Linked DNA regions of Homo sapiens: all the other regions are linked to region 1. Evidence: promoter capture Hi-C in 16 types of primary human blood cells and fetal thymus (Javierre and others, 2016). All regions are on one chromosome and are shown on one strand. Each heading gives the region's core, a stretch centred on a gene start or on the middle of the fragment in contact. The rest is flanking DNA. Distances are from core to core; before and after follow the strand shown. Region 1 holds the start of NOL8 (nucleolar protein 8). Region 2 overlaps CENPP (centromere protein P). Region 3 overlaps CENPP (centromere protein P).

Region 1 (3,801 bases), core at 373-2,872:
CTACTTTCATGACCGCACGCAGACATTTTCTGTAGATCTCCTCCTTCCCATTTTCTACCAATTCTTCTCCAGTTAGCTCAGGAAAAATCCCATTCTTTCTGCACCTATGTCAAATTACTCTTGACTCAAAAATTGAAGACAGTTTATGTTTTCGAGAGGCTTCTATGTTTGAGATGATAATACATAATTACGGTTGCAGAGCTTTTCTCTCCCTCTCCTTCAATAAACCAAAAGTGCCCAGACTTTGGAGTAAAATTTTTGGGTCCCAATCCATCTCTGACAATTCCTTTCTCTGGAACCTTGGACAAGCTACCTAACTTCTCTGAGCCTCAGTTTCTTCAACTATAAAACAGGGCTAACAGTAGCACCTACCTCAGAGGAATGTCAAATTCTCCTGCAGTCTATATTAACTACTTTTCTTTTATCAACTTAGTTTTTTACCGAAGTTATTTTTCAAAGGAATTTTTATGTCATCGTAAACACAAAGTCATTATCAGTTGAGATGGTTAGCTGACCTACCAAAACAAATGCCATGAAACCAAACGGAGTTATTAAATCCCAACTAGAGATACTTCTGCATACTGGAGGCGGAATTATCTAGCTAGGGATATAGTCAAGACTTCCTCCTTGTCAGTCATCCACACAGACGACTGCGATTAAACGAGTTAATACCCTGCAATGCGTTTACAGCTGGGCGCCGTACGCGCTGCTCCCAACTCTAGGCCATCGTCATGACAGGATCAATGCCAGTTCATGCCCACTTTCTAGGGCTGGGAGTAGGAGACCGAGGATGTCTGTGGAGATTCACCCGCCTGGCCCGGGAACCCTGGCCAGCGGGCCCTGGGGGACTTGGGGTGGTCACGTACTGGACTCGGGACTTCTCTTCCCAGGGCGCCGGTGGGTCCTCACACGCTCGCCGCAGGGCCGCGATCTCAGCTTGCAAGGCGCGCACCTCTGCCAGCTCTGCGTCCATGGCGCGTTGCTGACCGCAGCCGGGCCGGCAGCGCAGCTGTCACTCCGACCTGCGCGCTTCACCCGCGCTTCAAGCCTCGCGCGCGCTCCCGGCGCGGACCATCCCAGAGCTCACGCGGAGGGGAGGCGGGAGAGCTCCGCGTGACCCCAGCGGCCCTGCACGTCCAACTCCGCTCTCGCACGAGAGCCTGAGTCCTCCACTTCCCCGCACACGTTTCCCTGGCTGTCTAAGCAGTGGCTATACTTTCTCTGGAGAGCGCGTTCTTTGCTACTCCAAGCCCAAGCGCTCCGCTGCTCACCCTAGCCGGCAGCCTTGGAGCCGCCCGGCCGCGTGCCTCACTAAAGAGGCAGGGCTGGGATCACGTGGAGGGGAGCGCCTCTTTATTTTTTTCACCTACTTCCTCTCTTACGCCGACCTAGTCCAGGAATTGGTACACACAGCGATAGTGTTCAATAGAAACTAGGGGATTTTGGTTTAGGCTCTTTTGCAGTCGTTGAGGGGGAGGTGACGGAGGCGTCAGGGAAGGTGGGAGGACGGAAAAGGAAATTAAAAGCTCTTGGGAACTGAATTGTGGTAACGGAACCTTAGGAGGCTGGGTTGGAAATCGAGTAGGAAGGAAGAGAGGATGCTCCGTTGGGACACGTGACCAGAAGTTAGGGGCTGCAGCGGCGCTGGCTTTAGGTGAACGACGTGGTGAGGAGTGGGTTTCGGGCATGAGAAGTCACAGGGCCGTTTCCTAGTCTCTCTTCACTTCTTTGGGTCTTCTCAGAGAAAGAAGGCTGCCGTGGGTAGGCTGGGGGCGGAGACTATCGGGAAGAGGTAGGCCGAAGTTCTGCCCAGAATACACGCCATGTGGTGGACGCTGGTTGGGAGTCTCTTCTGGAAAGAGTCTGTCAGCTCTTGGGGAAGGGAAGGGCGAGAGCTGAGCGCCTGCCGGGTGCTAAACGAAATGAGAGATACTATGATGGGCCCTAGTACCTCTGGAAAAGTTTTCCTGAGTCCCCTGTGATACAGCAACCTTCATAGTATAGTGTTAAGAATTCCAAGTTCTGAAGGTAGACCTGCATTATAATCCTGGATTCACTAATTTTCGGTATGGCATTGAGGAAGTGACTTAACCTCTTCTGCTCTCCTGAAAAATGGGAAACATGCAAACTACTTTGTACAATGCAGGCACATAGCAAAAACACAAGTCTGTATTCGCTATATCCCTTGATCTTTGTGTCTGAACCCCACTTTGCAGCACTTTTATTGTGACATAATATTGTGCCATTTGTTTTATTCTTTTGTGACTATAAGGAGCTCCTAGCCTCTCTATTCACTTCTTTGGGTCTTCTAGGAGGAAGAAGGCTGGGGTGGGTAGGTTGGGGGTGGAGACAATTAGGAAGAGGTAGGCTAGCTCTTTTTATCTTTTAGTGCGTTACATCCTGTTTCTGTCAGACTTTGTTAAAGACAGTAAATGAATGTATGAGTGAGTCAAGGAAAAACATCTAAAAACATGAATACATAAAATTAAGAGGGATAGAGTGTAATATTATGGCCATTTGGAGGAAAAAAACTCTGTCTGTACCTGTGTCTATATGGGTATGGGGTTGCTGTTCCAAAGTGCATTCATGAAAGATGTGGATGTAGGGCTTGGGCAAAACCTCGAAGACTAAAATTTGGAAGTAATACAATAGGAAGTGAAATACAGATCCAGGAGACGGATTTGATACAGAAGGTTCAGAGGAAGTAGTTGTTTTGTTAGATTTTAGAAGAACTAAGGGAAAGAACTCTTCTCTGTATACAGAAAATTACTTTTCCCACTGAAACACACCCAAGTATATGCCCAGCCTTCATGAAAGTGAACAGAGAAACGAAGCGCCTTTATGTGGGTGGCCTTAGCCAGGACATTTCTGAGGCAGACCTACAAAATCAGTTCAGCAGATTTGGAGAAGTTTCGGATGTGGAGATCATCACACGGAAAGATGACCAAGGTAATTTATGGTCCTTCACTGGGCAGTTATAGGCAGACATAACTCAGGTTAAGTGCTAGAAAATAAAACAACCCCAAGATAAATGTTAGCTCTGAACACCAAAAGTTTTAAGTGATGTTGTGGAGGTATAATGTGTGATGTGGAACTTGACCAGAATTTGTTTCTGAAATAAGAAAAAATTCCAAATTCTAAAACATCTGATTTCAGAAACATATTAACTTCCAGTTTTGAGAACTAGAATTTTCTAACATGGATTAAGTGTCCCGTTAAGTAGACTATCACTAGCATACAATCAAAATGTTTCCTTATCTGACTACTGGACATTTTCTTCTTTTTTTTTTTGGAATATTTTGATAATTATGCTTATTTTTATAGCCAATAAAAAACAAGGTTTATCTTTGAAATAATAAGTTTTCAAGAGCTATTTTTTTTTTTAATTTAGAAACAACCGTTTTTACATTGCTCTCTGGATAAGAATTTAAATAAATTGTTTTGTTTGTTTGTTTGTTTGTTTTTTAGGAAACCCACAGAAAGTTTTTGCATATATCAACATCAGTGTAGCAGAAGCGGACCTGAAAAAATGTAAGATCATCATATATTTTCTATACTGTTTGCCAGTTTGTATGACTCTGTAACTTGGAATAACTGGTTCTAAATCTAAACCTCCACAGCCATTTTTCACGTTATCCAGAGGGACAGCAGTGATGAAGAGAATTCCAGTATCGTATAACTCAGCAGGTTTAGGTCCATTCCATTTGGCATCAGCAGACATGGTAGCACTTTACTGGTGGGTTTACTTAAAACTGCTATTCTCAAATATTTTGGACAAGGGACCAAACTTTCATAGAAACT
Region 2 (3,801 bases), core at 779-3,278, 250 kb before region 1:
AGTCAGTGTGGCAATTCCTCAGGGATCTAGAACTAGAAATACCATTAGACCCAGCCATCGCATTACTGGGTATATACCCAAAGGACTATAAATCATGCTGCTATAAAGACACATGCACACGTATGTTTACTGCGGCATTATTCACAATAGCAAAGACTTGGAACCAACCCAAATGCCCAACAATGATAGACTGGATTAAGAAAATGTGGCACATATACACCATGGAATACTATGCAGCCATAAAAAATGACGAGTTCATGTCCTTTGTAGGGACATGGATAAAATTGGAAATAATCATTCTCAGTAAACTATTGCAAGAACAAAAAACCAAACACTGCATATTCTCACTCATAGGTGGGAACTGAACAATGAGAACACATGGACACAGGAAGGGGAACATCACACTCTGGGGACTGTTGTGGGGTGGGGGGAGGGGGGAGGGATAGCATTGGGAGATATACCTAATGGTAGATGATGAGTTAGTGGGTGCAGTGCACCAGCATGGCACATGTATACATATGTAACTAACCTGCACATTGTGCACATGTACCCTAAAACTTAAAGTATAATAATAATAAATAAATAAATAAATAAATAAAAGATAGGGTCTCCCTGTGTTGCCCGGGCCAGACTTGAACTCCTGGGCTCAATCTTCCCACCTCAGCTTCCAAGTAGCTGGGACTATAGGGGCATAACATTATGCCCAGCTATCTTGATTTTTCTACAAATACCTTCCTTGCTTTTCTTTTCCCTTAGATTTTTTCCTTACTTAAGTATGCACCCCTAAACAAGAAAGCTTATTTTTTTGCCTGTTTCTAAACTTCATGTATATAGAATCATAAAACATATATTTTGACTTATATTGCTCAGTATTTTGTTTGGGAGATTCATTTATGATGTCGTATGTAGCTCCATGGTGTTGTTCTTCTCAATTCTAAATGGTATTTCATAATAAGAATACATCACAGCCTCCCGAGTAGTGAGGACTACAGGTGCCCGCCACCATGCCCAGCTAATATTTTGTATTTTTAGTAGAGACAGGGTTTTGCCATGTTGGCCAGGCTGGTCTTGAACTCCTGGCCTCAAGTGATCAGCCTGCCTCAGCCTCCTAAAGTGCTGGGATTACAGCCGTGAGCCACTGCACCCAGCCCCTGTGCGTGTTTCTTGATATACATGTGCACATGTTTCTTTGGATATATATATACACACACACCTAGGGATATGTGAATCTTCAAATTTTACAGATAATGTCTAAGTATTTTTGTCAGTTTACAGTTCCATCAGCAGTATATGAGAATATCTATTGTTCCATATCCTAATAATTGGCAGGGTTAGTCTTTTTAATATTCTTTTTAATACCCACCATTCTGGTAGGTATGCTATGGAATCTCATAATGATTTAAAATTGCTTTTCTTTTATTAATGGATTTAACACTTACATTTGTTTACTCACCATTTGAATTTTGTTAGTATTTTTGGTGCAAACGGTCTGATCAAATTGCTTACCTATTTTCATACTGAGTTGTCTGTCTTTACCTGCCATACATACTACTTATTTACTGTTTCCAAGATATATTCTGGCCTGGCATGGTGGCTCATGCCTGTAATAATCTGTACACTTTGGGAGAGGCTGAGACACTGCCAAAATATGATTTAAATCATATTTAAGCCATTATGTATACACATGTAATGCATTATGATTTAAATAATAAACATTATATATAACAATTATTATTTAAATCTTAATGCATTGTATGCCTATTTATTGATATGAGATATCAATAGATATACATATCCCATAATAAATATCCCACATCAACAAACAGGCATACAATGCATTATGATTTTTAAAAATTATTGTTGTAAAATACAGATAACATAAAATTTATCATCTTAACCACTTTTAAGTGGTTTAAGTTTAGTGCTATTAAATATATTCATAATGTTGTGCAACCATCACCACTGTCCATTTTCATAACTGTTTTCCTGTTGTAAAATCGAAACTTGACACCTATTAAACACTGACTCCCCATTCCTTCCTCCCTTTGCCTTTAGCAACCACCCTAAATCTCTCCTATTTAGACTACTCTAAGTACCTCATGTAAGTGAAATCATACAGTATTTGTCTTTTTGTGACTGGCTATATCACTTAGCATAATGTCCACAAACTTCATCCATTTTGTAGCACATATCAGAATTTCCTTCCTTTTTAAGCTGAATAATATTCCATTATATGGACAGACTGCATTTGTTTATCTATTTATCCTTTGATGAACACTTGGATTGCTTCCAATGTTATAGCTACGGTGAATAATGCTGCTGTGAACATAGGGGTAGAAATATCTGAAGACTCTGCTTTCAGTTATTCTGGCATGTACCTCAGGTGAAATCAGTGGATCACATGGTAATTCTATTTTTAATTTTCTTAGGAACTGCTATGCTGTTTTCTATAGCAGCTGTACCATTTTATATCCCTACTATAACAGCGCGCAACGGTTCTAATTTTTCTACTTTCTTGCCAGTGCTTGTTATTTTCTGTTTTTTGGATAGGAGACATTCTTTTTTTTTTTGAAATGGAGTCTCACTCTGTCACCCAGGCTGGAGAGCAGTGGTGCAATCTCGGCTCACTGCAACCTCCACCTCCCAGGTTCACGCAATTCTCCTGTCTCAACCCCACAAGTAGCTGGGATTACAGGTGTACGCCATCATGCCCAGCTAATTTTTGTACTTTCAGTAGACACGGGGTTTCACCATGTTGGCCAGGCTGGTCTTGAACTCCTGACCTCGTGATCTGCCTGCCTTGGCCTCCCAAAGTGCTGAGATTACAGGCGTGAGCCACCGCGCCCAGCCTGGATAGGAGACATTCTAATGGGTGTGAGGTGGTATCTCACTGTATTTTAATTTGTAGCTCCCTAATGATTAGTGATGTTGAGCATCTCTTCATGTACTTAATGGCCATTTGTGTATATGTTCTTGGAGAAATGTCTATTCAAGTCCTTTGCCCATTTTTGAACAGAGTTGTTTTGGTGTTGAGTTTTAGGAGTTCTCTTTATATTCTGTATTATAATCCCTTATCAGATACATGATTTGCAAAATTTTGTCCTATTTGTGAGTTGCCTTTTCACTGTTCATAATGTCTGTTAGTACACAAAACTTTTACATTTTCACTAAGTCCAATCTGTCTCTTCTCCTTAAGTTGACTATACCTTTGCTGTCATATCTAAGAAATCACTTGCCAAATCCAATGTAGTGAAGCTTTTCCTGTTTTCTAAGACTATTATACTTTTAGGTTTTACATGTAGGTCTTTGATCCATTTTGAGTTAATTTTTGTATATGGTGTTAGCTAAGGTTCCAACTTCATACTTTTGCATGTGGATATCCAGATTTCCAGGCACCATGTGTTAAATGAATGTCATTTCCCCATTGAATGGTCTTGGCACATTAGTCAAAATTCATTTGACTAAGTACGGGTGGGTTCATTTTGGACTCTGTATTCTATTCCATTAGCCAATGTCTGTCTTTAAATCAGTCCTACATTGTTTTGATTATTGTAGCTTTGTAGTAAGTTTTGAAATTAAGAAATGAGTCCTCCAGCTTTGTTCTTTTTGAAGATTGTTTTGGCTACTCAGGGTCCCTTGAGATTCCATGTGAATTCTAGAATGAGTTTTTCTATTTCTGCGAAAAACATCACTGGAATTTTGATAGAGATTTCATTGAATCTGTAGATTGCTTTGAGTAGTACTGACATCTTAACACAGAGTCTTCCAATCCATGAATTTGGGACGTGTTTCCACTGATTT
Region 3 (3,801 bases), core at 808-3,307, 140 kb before region 1:
TATCTTTGCTATAATGATTAATTATACTATGTTAGTATAAACAAGTCTTACTTTTCTGTAAAGAATGACAAAAATCCCTGCATTCAACAGCGTTCTAGTCAATTAAAAATTATAGATTTCATTCAATTAATAGTCTAATTCAATGGATGTTTATTAAATAATAGCCATGTAAAATGTAGTGGGCTGAGTTTAATGGTCCTCAAATAAGCTTACAATCTATTCAGGTAGTAACAGTCACTATACATTAAAATGAACAAGAAAACAATTACTTACAGCAATCATTAGCAAACAGTGTAAGAAATCTCTACCCAAACGTGTTAAGACACCACAAATCTCTAACAGCAGCACACAGAATATATCTGATTGATTAATATATACATGTATGGCTTATTTATTGGATCTTTAAAGAAGAAAAGAATTTTTTCTTTACTGTATTAGTATCATTTTAATATTCTAGGATTTAAAAGATTACTACTTCCATGTTTAACATTTTGGGCTGGGTGTGGTGGCTCATGCCTATAATCCCAGCACTTTGGGAGGCCAAGGCGGGCGGATCACTTGAGCCCAAGAGTTCGAGATCAGCCTGGGCAACACAACAAGACTCCACCTCTATAAAAAATACAAAATTAGTTGGCATGGTGGTGGTGCACGTAGTCTTAGCCAAGAGGTAGAGGTTGCAGTGAGCTGTGACTATGCCACTGCACTCTAGCCTGGGTGACACAGTAAGACCCTGTCTTAAAAACAAAAACAAACCAAAAAAATCATTTCGAAGTCTCCAGATTTTAGCAAGTAAAATTTCTGATTTAGTCTGAAATTGGGTTTGGAGGAGCACCTCATTTCCCCCGCCACCGCCTCCCCTCAGCACAGCTCCTGCCTCGCTGACTCTGGCATGGTGTTAGAGGAAGAGCTCTGGTTCTGTATCATCTGAGGTGGTAAGCCAGGCCTGGCTATTCCAGGCCATTTCCCCACACTCTCAGGCTGTGCTGGAGAAAACAAATTTAAAGTCTGTCATCTCTAGATAAGATAAAACTAAGAGAACAGGGTAGAAAATACCATAACAATATTAGCCCCTTGCTACCATGCAGGCCTGGCCTGTTCCTGTGTCTGAGAGATGTGGGGTCACCATGCCTCCCTGTCACCCTGGGTCAGTGCAGTGGACCCTGCTGGCCCATCTCTTCCTCCCTGTCACCCTGGGATTGAGGACATGCATGCTGATCATACTTAAGGCAGACTGAGGGATGCTCAATCCTTGCATCAAGCCTCCCTACAAAATCCAGCTCTCACACTGCCCGGTCAGGTAGCCAGCACCTTGTCTGCTCTTTTCACTTTCAAAGTGTGCAGGCAGCTCAGATCTGGTAAGCCTCCATTATCAATATAAAAGAGCAACTAGAAGAGCATATATTTATAAGTTAGGTCTCACTAAAACATTAAGACAGTCAGAAATGACACAATGGATTCCACCGAGGATCCACCCAGTCCACCCCACTAACTTTAGGCCACAGAATCTTTTGGAGAATGGCAGGCCATTATTCCACCAACAGAAGTTGGAAATATAGCCTGTTGATGCGTTTACCACTTCTTCAACCCCTTTTCAGCTTAGATAACCACAAGAATAATAACTAATGGCATATTTAATACTGGGGCTATGAAAGTTTTAAATTCATCATATCATTATTTTATTACATTTTAGGAGCATTCCAGGGACTTAGTCCATACTTATTCTTGTTATTCACAGGGAAATGAGAAACTAAATGGTATCAGGAGCTTTCTTAGACCTACTTGATTTCCTTTGAGAAATGCATGTCAGGTGTAGAGCAATGGAGGGAAAGCCCCCAGCTGTTAAGTAGTATTACTGCCAAGCTACTATTAGCAGACTGACCAGGTGTACTGATGTAAATCACTTTTTAAAGTACATGCTTTATACTTGAATTGTAGGTATACCACACAATTACAAAACATTTATATAATTATAGTATCACCTTATATGGTACCTGTCTTTTAAGAGAATCAAACTATTTTTTAGACATTCTACAAATTCTCTGTGTTAAGTTTTAGCTGCTTGTTTGGCACTTGGGTTCTTACACAAAGGATGATACAGTCAGAGCAAAATCACTGAACACAATCACAGCCCTCCCAGCTCACTTCCAGCCATTATGAGACACATGTGGCATGAATCACTGTCCTACTACTGAATGGCTATGCTCTTCTCATCTTCTGTCCTTACACTGTTTGTTAATGATGAATTGGAAGCTCTGTGATAATCAAGCCAGCACTGAGAGTGCAGTTTAACTGGATCACTCAGCCAGCTCACCATGCAGGGCAGGCAGTCCACCATGTGGCGCGGCTCTTACCAGTGCTGCACAAAACCTCTTACACAGTTTTGTATTACTTTTCCTTCCTTTTATGCAGTTCCAACAACTGCATGTTTTAATTAGGAAAAACAAACTAATAAAAGCCCAGTGCACTAGACTTGGATCTCACTGACGCACAGGTTCACTTTGTGGTGGGGCCTCTCTAACCCTCACTTGTTGCATGGCATAGGCAAGTCACCTTTCTTCACTTTACGCATTTCCTCATCACTAAAAGGAGAGTAATAATTCCTGCTAAATTTACCTCTTGGAATCAAGAGAGGATTCACAAACCATCTTGATGATCCACCAAGTTGTTAAATTCCCCTCACCTCATTTTTCAGTGTAACCAAAGGAAAAGAGAAGATACTTTTAGTTGGCATCACACACTCACAAACGAGGATATTTTACCAGTTGGTAACAAAATGTAGTTTCACCTCTTCTCCTAGGCTTACCCTTTCTTGGTGAAACTTTTAGCAATAGTGATATATCTGGAATTTCCAGAGGGTGAGAAAAGGAAAGCACAAAGGGCCAAGAGTGAGATGAGGAAACGTGCAGATACAAGTTTACTGAGCAACCAAAATGTGTATTTCTGCCATGGAAAAACAACAACAATATGAGTAATACCAGTGAGGCATATTAAACAAAGGGAGATTTTTGTGAAATGAATTTGAGAACAAAATCATAAAATGAATGAATCTAGAGCTGCTCCTTGAGAAAATCAGATGACCTGGATTGGTAAAGAGGGACAAAAAGGTCCTGAAGACGCTTAGTGGCCTGTCATCATTCTTGGTAAACACAGAAATTCTCTTTGAACAATCTGGCAAAGAGTAAAGAACTGAGCTATGCTCATTTTGCAATGAAAATCCTTATCAGAGTTACCAACATGTCCCAGTTTGCCTAGGACATTCCCAGTTTGGGTTCTGAAATCCCCACATCCCATAATCTCATGATCTGGGCAGACTGAGATGGCTGGTCACCCAAGCAGCCATGCACCCTTGGACATGTTGCAAAAGACTTGTGCAGAGAGCACACTCACACTGGTACGAGCTCTTTTTACTCTCTGGAGTTATTAGACCTCCTCTGGAGGATGCTGTCTTATTGCCCTGAGAAATACCCAAAAAACTGATAAGAGATTGAGTCATTTCTCAGGATCCATTACTATATCCCCAATATCTAAAATATGCCAGAATGCTGAGGGCACATGGTAGGATTTTTTTCCTTACAGGCCTCTGTTCTGGGAGAAATGGTAAACATTAGTAAATATGAAAGAAATGAGGTTTTCAAAGTAGACAAAATCATGCAAAAGTATATTTGGTGTGCACTAAACATAGTTTTGTAGAGTAAATAGATTTTAAGATAAGATAAAGATAATATCACTGGTCACTTCCCTGAAGGGAAATAGGAGGCTGAGTAGAGGTTGAAGGCTTAGCCATATGAAAGTATTATCTAT

The links. The method cuts DNA at HindIII sites, captures the fragments that hold promoters and counts their contacts. A CHiCAGO score of 5 or more calls a contact.
Region 2: a contact is called between a fragment that was not itself captured here and the fragment with the promoter of NOL8 in region 1, in 1 of 17 cell types (M2 macrophages). The highest score is 6.0, in M2 macrophages.
Region 3: a fragment that was not itself captured here is called in contact with the fragment with the promoter of NOL8 in region 1 in 1 of 17 cell types (megakaryocytes); the score reaches 5.4 in megakaryocytes.

The regions. Positions count from the first base shown.
Region 1 is chr9:92,323,171-92,326,971 of GRCh38, reverse strand. NOL8 (nucleolar protein 8) reads left to right here and starts at 1,622. Exons shown (of 17, transcript NM_017948.6): 1 at 1,622-1,666; 2 at 2,763-2,949; 3 at 3,469-3,531. The coding sequence starts at 2,811. It overlaps CENPP (centromere protein P), which reads right to left and starts at 1,019. Exons shown (of 8, transcript NM_001012267.3): 1 at 867-1,019. The coding sequence starts at 973. RefSeq lists enhancers at 1,414-1,523, 1,554-1,673, 1,452-2,340. The HindIII fragment of the contact is 10,709 bases long and covers 1-3,801 here.
Region 2 is chr9:92,574,581-92,578,381 of GRCh38, reverse strand. All of the region lies in intron 5 of CENPP (centromere protein P), which reads right to left. Among named protein-coding and RNA genes, the nearest start is that of ECM2, 40 kb to the right of the region's middle. The HindIII fragment of the contact is 2,459 bases long and covers 799-3,257 here.
Region 3 is chr9:92,466,822-92,470,622 of GRCh38, reverse strand. All of the region lies in intron 5 of CENPP (centromere protein P), which reads right to left. All of the region lies in intron 3 of ASPN (asporin), which reads left to right. Among named protein-coding and RNA genes, the nearest start is that of ASPN, 14 kb to the left of the region's middle. The HindIII fragment of the contact is 3,693 bases long and covers 211-3,801 here.